Regions from separate parts of the Homo sapiens genome. Here all the other regions are linked to region 2. Evidence: promoter capture Hi-C in 16 types of primary human blood cells and fetal thymus (Javierre and others, 2016). All regions are on one chromosome and are shown on one strand. The core of a region is centred on a gene start or on the middle of the fragment in contact, and the rest is flanking DNA. Distances in the headings are between cores, read along the strand shown.

What was found. Contacts are between HindIII fragments. The CHiCAGO score rates a contact against its expected background, and 5 or more counts as called.
Region 1: a fragment that was not itself captured here is called in contact with the fragment with the promoter of LINC02482 in region 2 in 1 of 17 cell types (neutrophils); the score reaches 5.4 in neutrophils.
Region 3: a contact is called between a fragment that was not itself captured here and the fragment with the promoter of LINC02482 in region 2, in 1 of 17 cell types (neutrophils). The highest score is 9.3, in neutrophils.

The regions. Positions count from the first base shown.
Region 1 is chr4:1,699,990-1,702,689 of GRCh38, forward strand. It overlaps SLBP (stem-loop histone mRNA binding protein), which reads right to left. Exons shown (of 8, transcript NM_006527.4): 4 at 22-81. Among named protein-coding and RNA genes, the nearest start is that of SLBP, 11 kb to the right of the region's middle. The HindIII fragment of the contact is 4,067 bases long and covers 1-2,700 here.
Region 2 is chr4:6,672,241-6,675,130 of GRCh38, forward strand. It overlaps LINC02482 (long intergenic non-protein coding RNA 2482), which reads right to left and starts at 1,641. Exons shown (of 2, transcript NR_134665.1): 1 at 1,444-1,641. It overlaps MRFAP1L2 (Morf4 family associated protein 1 like 2), which reads left to right and starts at 1,835. Exons shown (of 1, transcript NM_138699.3): 1 at 1,835-2,890. The coding sequence starts at 1,973. The coding sequence ends at 2,332. RefSeq lists an enhancer at 829-1,437 and a silencer at 1,910-2,139. The HindIII fragment of the contact is 2,330 bases long and covers 1,239-2,890 here.
Region 3 is chr4:2,939,754-2,942,548 of GRCh38, forward strand. NOP14 (NOP14 nucleolar protein) reads right to left here. Exons shown (of 18, transcript NM_001291978.2): 14 at 2,439-2,598; 15 at 1,829-1,976. The region is part of intron 2 of NOP14-AS1 (NOP14 antisense RNA 1); the gene reads left to right. Among named protein-coding and RNA genes, the nearest start is that of NOP14-AS1, 5.6 kb to the left of the region's middle. The HindIII fragment of the contact is 2,982 bases long and covers 1-2,779 here.

The sequences.
Region 1 (2,700 bases), core at 86-2,585, 5.0 Mb before region 2:
AAACATTTACACAGCCTTTACCTTCCTGATGATGATTTTCTCTCTCTTCCAAAGTCATTGATGAGGAGTTTCCTTTTATATCTGAGGGCAAAATAAATATTGCTGTTTTTAAAAAAGATATAAAAATAAAGCAGCCAGGTCTGAGGAAGCTCCACCCTGATGCCCGCAGGCACACCATCCTATGCAATCCAGAAGCTCCGTGGGCCAAAAGAAATCTTTGTCAGGTTCAGTTTAAGTAGTGAGATCCACACAACAAAAATTTACATTCCCTAAAACTTGGCAGCCTTAAAAAAAGAAAAACAAAACATAAATTGAAATAAATTATTTTAAAAACACCAAACTTACTAATGGGACTCATATGCCTACTGGGCACTGCATACCTTCTCCAATCCTGGAGACCAAACGTGCCCCCTTTTCTCTTGTTCCTCATGAACTTCCTGAGGCATCTGCTTTCTATTGCAGTCATTACCAGAACGCAGTTTTGCAAAAAAAAAAGTATGACATCTCCAAAAGGAGTCTAGCGCAATCTGACGTTGAAACCACGAGCTACCTTGAGCTCCAAGTTCATGTGAGTATCTTTTTTTTTTTGAGATGGGGTCTCACTCTGTCACCCAGGCTAGAGTACAGTAGCACGATCATGGCTTACCACAGCCTCATATTCCTGGGCTGAAGCAATCATCTCACCTCAGCCTCCCAAGCAGCTAGGACTCCAGGCAAGTGCCGCCACAACCATCTCCAAAAAAATTTTTTTCTTTTTTTGGAGACATGGAGGTCTGTGTTGCCCAGGCTGCTCTTGAACTCCTGAGCTCAAGCAATCCTCCCGCCTCAGCCTCTCAAAAGTACTGAGATCAGGAGTGAGCCACCACCCCTGGCCTGTCATGCAGGTATCTAAATTATGTCATGTATTACTGTGCCTCCTCTCAAAATCTAAAATCCACCCAAGTTTGCTGAGGTGTTCAGTGCAGTTTGGACGCCAGAAGGTAATGAAGTAATTTATCTCCCGTGCATCTAGAGTAGCACTGGCTATATAACACCATCTTTGTACGATTCAGAGATTAGTCCTGCAAATCATTTGCTGCAGGGCCTCATTCTCTCCAGTACCACAGATGAGAAAGACTGGTTTTCAGGTATGATGAAAATCCATTTTCTTTTTTTTCTTTTTTTTTTTTTTTTTGAGACGGAGTTCCCTCTTGTTGCCCAGACTGGAGTGCAATGGCGAGATCTCGGCTCAGTGCAACCTCCGCCTCCCGGGTCCAAGCGATTCTCCTGCCTCAGCCTCCTGAGTAGCTGAGATTACAGGTTGCTGCCACCACGCCTGGCTAATTTTTAGTATTTTTAGTAGAGACGGGGTTTCTCCATGTTCGTCAGGCTGGTCTCGAACTCCTGATCTCAGGTGATCCGCCCGCCTTGGCCTCCCAAAGTACTGCGATTACAGGTGTGAGCCACCATGCCATGCAGAAAATCCATTTTCATACTCTTATATTGCTAGTTTGTAGTCTGTTAGTCTCCTTAAAGCATAGTAAGCTGACATTTCATACCGCTCTTACTGTCAGGAAGTAAGCCGGCCTGTCAGTAATGGCTCACTAAAGGGCCAGCAGTTTAAATTACACAGGTTGCACTAAAAGCTGCAGCTTTGGCCAGGCAAGGTGGATCACGCCTATAATCCCAACACTTTGGGAGGCCGAGGCGGGCAAATCACCTGAGGTCAGGAGTTCAAGACCAGCCTGGCCAATATGGTGAAACCTAGCCTCTACTAAAAATACAAAAATTAGCCGGACGTGGTGGCACACAGCTATAATCCCAGCTACTCGAGAGGCTGAGGCAGGAGAATCGCTTGAACCTAGGAAGCGGAAGTTGCAGTGAGCTGAGATTGCATCATTACACTCCAGCCTGGGAAACAGAGCAAGACTCCATCTCAAAAAAATAAGTAAGTAAATAAAAGCCGTAGCTTTCCATCACAAAGGGTATAATCAACAGAGCAGCCCAAACAGTGCTGTTTTCCAAAACAGGACAATTTTCAGGCACAGACCCATGAGATATCTGAAGAACAAATAGGGTCCACTCACAGGACAATCTGGACAGGTGGAATACGCATGAATAAGAGCTGCAGATAACCCCTGGCAAGGGGTGACTTGAGGGAGCAACTAGGCTATCGGTATGCAAGAACTGTTCTAAGACTTGTGCATGCAACACAAACTATACAAGTCAAGTCAAACATTCTAATTTTATAATTGAGGAAGTCAAGACCTATATAAATGCAATAATTCACTAAAAACACTGGTACTCTCATCTGTGAACTCCTAGTTCATTTCTTCTACCAAGGCATACATCCACCCACACATTTTGATACCAGAAGAAATGACAAATAACTCCCCCAAATGTTCAATAACCAATTCCCACATATTCCCGTCCCTTTTCAAAGGAGGCTGATATAAATACCATCACTGGCTGCCAAAATGAAAACAGGTAGTCTAGGTATCGTTCCGCGGCTGACACGCAAGACACATTTTTCTTGAGACCCTGTTTATCAGCCACTTGTTGGCTAAAATTATCTTGTAAAATACTTCAACCAATTATGAGCCACATTTTAACTGGGTTTGAATAAACCCAGTCCTTGCAACTGGGTTTGAGTTAGACAACTCATCAAAAGAGAAAGGATCAACACACTGATAATCAAGGGAGATTAAACATGGTTAAGGA
Region 2 (2,890 bases), core at 391-2,890:
GCCCTGTCACTGGGCTGGGGTGCAGTGGCGCAATCAGGCGTTCAGAGCTCACCTCGGTCTCGACCTGCTGGGCTCAAGCAATCTTCCCGGCTCAGCCTCTCAAGTAGCTGGGACTATCGGCACGCGCCACCACGCCCAGCTAATTTCTTGTGTTTTTTTTGGTAGGGTTTTTTCCCTTGTTGCCCAGGCTGGTATGGAACTCCTGAGCTCAAGCGATCCTCTCACCTCAGCCTCCCAAAGTGCTGGGATTATAGGCGTGAGCCACACGCCCGGCCTGGGTGTTTATGATTTAGAATGTTGGTGAGAGGTGACAGTGTGCTGGCAGTCCTCACAGCCCTCGCTCACTCTCGGTGCCTCCTCTGCCTGGGCTCCCACTTTGGCAGCACTTGAGGAGCCCTTCAGCCCACTGCTGCACTGTGGAGGCCCCTTTCTGGGCTGGCCAAGGCCAGAGCCGGCTCTCTCAGCTTGCAGGGAGGTGTGGAGGGAGAGGCGCGAGCGGGCACCGGGGCTGCACACGGCGCTTGCGGGCCAGCTGGAGTTCAGGGTGGGCGTGGGCTTGGTGGGCCCCGCACTCGGAGCAGCCGGCTGGCCCTGCCAGCCCCCGGCAATGAGGGGCTTAGCACCCGGGCCAGCGGCTGCGGAGGGTGTACTGGGTCCCTCAGCAGTGCCAGCCCACCGGCGCTGTGCTCGATTTCTCACCGGGCCTTAGCTGCCTTTCCGAGGGGCAGGGCTCGGGACCTGCAGCCCGCCATGCCTGAGCCTCCCACCCCCTCCATGGGCTCCTGTGCTGCCCGAGCCTCCTCGACGAGCACCACCCCCTGCTCCACGGCGCCCAGTCCCATCACCACCCAAGGGCTGAGGAGTGTGGGCGCACGGTGCCGTTCTCGCAGGCAGCTCCACCTGCAGCCCTGGTGTGGGATCCACTTGGTGAAGCCAGCTGGGCTCCTGAGTCTGGTGGGGATGTGGAGAACCTTTATGTCTAGCTCAGGGATTGTAAATACACCAATCAGCACCGTGTGTCTAGCTCAGGGTTTGTGAATATACCAATCGACTCTGCTGGGGCCTTGGAGAACCTTTGTGTCTAGCTCAGGGATTGTAAACGCACCAATCAGCACCCTGTCAAAACAGACCACTCGGCTCTACCAATCAGCAGGATGTGGGTGGGGCCAGATAAGACAATAAAAGCAGGCTGCCGGAGCCAGCAGTGGCAACCGGCTCAGGTCCCCTTCTATTGTGGAAGCTTTGTTCTTTCTCTCTTTGCAATAAATCCTGCTGCTGCTCACTCTTTGGGTCCACACTGCCTTTATGAGCCGTAACAGGTCTGCAGTTTCACTCCTGAGCCGGCGAGACCACGAACCCACCAGAAGGAAAAAACTCCGAACACATCCGAACATCAGAAGGAACAAACTCCAGACGCGCCACTTTAAGAGCTGTAACACTCACCGCGAGGGTCCGTGGCTTCATTCTTGAAGTCAGTGAGACCAAGAACCCACCAATTCCGGACACATTGGGAACTTAGAGCAGTGCTTGGGACATGGTTATCAGCGTCAGATATTTCCTTAAACTAGCGTGAAGTCGACTTTAACCTTCCAGCAGTGTGAGTGAGGGCCCTGACCCTAGAATCAACGCCCAAAGAGCTGTGGCGCTACAGCGGGCGGGGACATGGGGTGCGCATGCGTGCGGGGGGGTACGCGTGCGTGCAAGTGCGCGTGCGCGCGCAGGACCGCTGAGGCGGGAGCCCCGAATGCGGTTCTCGCTTGCTGCGTGGCGGTAAAGGACCGCAGGTGTCGTAAAAGGGCCGCAGTGGCAGCGTCCTGGCCGACGGCTAGTAGCCCATTTTGGATACCGTCCTCGCTGCGGAAAGTTGGGGCAACCTGTTGCTAGTCTGGTCGTTGGTGACAGCGAGGCTTCCGCGCTCGCTGCTGGTGAGCAGCCCCGGCGTGCCCCGCGGGCTGGAAGAGGCGGCGGCGTGATGCGGCCCGTGGACGCGGACGAGGCGCGGGAGCCCCGCGAGGAGCCGGGCAGCCCGCTGAGCCCCGCGCCCCGCGCCGGCCGCGAGAACCTGGCCTCCCTGGAGCGCGAGCGCGCCCGGGCGCACTGGCGGGCCCGCAGGAAGCTGCTGGAGATCCAGAGCCTGCTCGACGCCATCAAGAGTGAGGTGGAGGCAGAGGAGCGGGGCGCCCGGGCCCCAGCACCCCGCCCGCGTGCGGAGGCTGAGGAGCGGGTGGCTCGGCTGTGCGCCGAAGCAGAGAGGAAGGCTGCGGAGGCGGCGCGGATGGGCAGGCGGATCGTGGAGCTGCACCAGCGGATCGCCGGCTGCGAGTGCTGCTGAGCCGGCGAGGCCGCGCGGGTCTGGAGCGGAGCGCGGCGGGGAGTGTCCCGCGTGGAAGGCGCTGGGTAGGCAGGGAGGGGAGCGCAGAGCCGTGCCACGCTCTCCGCGGAGTTGGTTTCATTCTTTTTTCATAGGTAATTAGAGAAAATAATTTGATATGTTGTTGTAAAGAGTCATGACCACTGGAAGTATTTTCAGGACGTAGACCTGGTGGGTCACTACGTGGGGGGAGAGAGGTGTGAAGCGGAGGTACATGCTGGAAACGTGTGAATGTTGTTACGAGATTGGAGCGTTTGCGATGACCTTCCTGCAGGTGGAAGCATTGTGCACAGGTGGTTGGGTTTGTTTGACTCCCGGATATGAGAATATCAAGCTCAAAATTTATGTTGTGATGATGAATTTCTCCCACTTGTACTTTAGGTGGCCAACTGACGAACTGTGTTCACCTGATAAGGAGTCGTGGCTGCTTGGACAGGCTCAAACCAAGAGAGCCTTTCGTTTTGTCTCCCCTGTTTTTCTGCCTGCGTTTTCTCCACATTAGCCACTCAATTTCCAGTA
Region 3 (2,795 bases), core at 39-2,538, 3.7 Mb before region 2:
TCCCTGCAGCAGGATGGTGCCCTTGCTGTGCGCCTACCGGTGGGCGGGGGGGTAAGCCAAGGCTGTGGCTGCTCAAGTCCTGGCACAGCCGGAACGAAGTAAAGCCACTGTCTTCTTGAAGAGGGAGGGCCGTGGGCTGGCCCCTGAGAGCACTCTCTGAAAGGAGGGGACTTGGGGAGTTGGAGGTCACCATAGCCTGTGCTCCTCACAGCCAGAAACGTCAACAGAACCCCTCTTTCCCAGACAAACTTGGCACGAAAGGCCGTGAGCCACTTGCTTCGTGAGAAGGCTCACAGGAGAACCCCTTTCTGCCGCGGGGGGCCGTGTGCATGCTAGAGCCCAGTGTGCAAACTGACGCTGGGTGCTAGGCGGGGCAGGGTTTCCACCAGTCTTGGCAGTTTGACCTTATTTTCAAGCCAACAGAACCAGATGGTTAAGACCCATTTTCACCAAGACCTTGGCTTCCAGAAGAGTTGGCTGGTGGCTTCTGAGGAATCTCCCGAAAGGTAGTTCACTGAGGTTGGTCCTACCCGCTTTCTCCTGCACAGGTGTGTCCTGGAACCCTGGCTGCACCCACAGATACAGCCACTCCTGGGCCCATGTGGATGTAACCTTCGAGTGCCGGAATGCCTCGTCTCCATGGAGACCAAACTCAAGGGCCTGACTGGCCCAGTCTACCGAGACCATGAGACCTGCTGTGCCCCTCGGCCAGGCCAACCCAAATTCTTTTAAATAAAAGGCACAAGCCACAGCCACACCAGCAGGAAGTGGATACAGGATAAGGGGCAGGGCTCACATCTCATCCTCATCAGCCTTTGACCAGGCGACGGAGTCTGTGATAGCTAGCTTATCTGCTCTATGCTCCAGGGACCTGGCCGGAACGAGCCGAGTTGCTGTCCTCATGGAACTCTCATCCTAGTGGGGCAGAGACAAGGACGGTGTAACGTGCCCGGGGGTCAGCACCACAGACAAAACGCAGGGAGCACGGCACAGTGTGGGCCAGGGAAGGCCTGGCTTCCCAAGGGTGTGGGCGCGAGCAGCATGGCTGTGGGGAGTTCTAGGTGCAGAGAACTACTCCAGAGACGAAGCCAGGCCTGCGAGGAGGCCGGAGCGCATGAGGGGAAGGCACGAGGCAAGGCTGCCAGGGCTGTGCTGGTGGTGCGGGACGGTCCTGTGGGGGTAGCTGCGGAGATGGCACTGATGCCTTCGGCTCCAGCAGCATCCTGGGCTGGTGCGGGCCAATAAGGGGCAGGGTTGGGGCAGGATGAAAGGCACAAGCCACAGCCATGTCAAGCAGGAAGTGGATGCAGGGTACAGCCTGTCAGGGTCAGGGTGAAAGGCAGGGAGGCGGGTAGGCCATAGGTGAATTTGGAGCAGCCTGTAGAGGACAGGATGTGCCATCAAAGACTTGTTCTTGGGTCCAGCTGAGACTGTCCCTTGGGGCTTCCTGTCACCTTGTGCAGGATAGTGAGACCATCCTTGGAAAACCCATCGGGACTGCAGAGCGCGGCTCAGAGCTGACTGTCCAGGCCTGGCAGGGGCTGACCCCTGGGCGCTGGTGCACCCTCCGTGCGGCCTCTTGGAGGAAGCACACAAGGCGACAGTTCCCAGCTGCCGCCTGAGATGCAGCATCTGCTTTACTCCAGCCCAGCACTGCTCACCGTCACTGCCCACTCTTATGATTTTACTTCCCTTCATATTTGTGATTTTGCAAAGATGGTGTTGACTTACAGCTGCAGCATCAAATGACTGACTGCCACCAGCTTGGCCCCAGCTCAGGGACATGTCTGAGCCCAGGCAGAGCACCCTAGTGGCCGGGAAGCCTCACCTGGAGCTCCTGCGGGTGGCTGCAGTCCGCCAGGTGATCCGTGAGGAGGGCTTGGAGAGGCCCCATGATGGCGTGGAAGGATGGCAGGGACCCGTACATGAGCACGCAGCGCTTCAGCAGGGCCAGGCCCACAGCCAGGCAGGACAGTCTGTGAGGGCAGGAGGCAAGAGGAGGTCCAACTTGTTCTGTTTGTCACTGACAAAACCAATAACGTGGCAAAAATGAACTTCCCCACTTCCACTAGGCTGAAAACTCCAGTGTGGCCACCTTGGCCGGCCAGGGTTGGGCCCATGCAACCACGGGCAAGGCAGGCTCAGGGTCAGGCCTAACGCAGGAGGGGAGGCTGTGGGAACCGCAGCGCCAGCTGGGATGGGGCGGCTCCATTTTTGGTTCCAAATTATGATTTGTGAAATCAAGCAAATGTATTTTGAAAATGAAAAGAAAAAGGGACAGCAAGCCAACATGCCTCAGAAAGGCTTTCGGCCTCCATCAAACCAAACGGCCGGGCGGCAAGTTCACTAAGAACAGCACATCAGAAAGCACGAGTGGCTTCTCCTGCCTCTGGGGACGCTGTAGGGCACAGGCCCCAAAGCGGGGTCCCCTCACATACCGGATGTGATTGGCCTCTGTCGAAGTTGGGGCCCTCAGTCTACTCGCCCAGCGGAGGGAGAGGCTGCTCTGCTGCCACGTGGCCACATCCTCTCTAGCAGACACCACGAGCAGTTCCGAGTTCTTCCCAAGCGCTCTGAAAGGGTGCACCAGAGTGGAACCTGAATTCCAAGTGCGACAGGACAGAGATGGCCTGAACATTACTGGGCTCCCAGCAGGCTCTGCGGCACCGAGCCTGTGGAAGTTCACCCTCTAACAGACGCACACCGATTTTTATGTTTCTGGGTTGTGCCAGACACTGAGGGTTTCAGCGTGGGCAGGGACACCTCAGGGGAGGGGAAAAGCTTTGGCAGGGGGC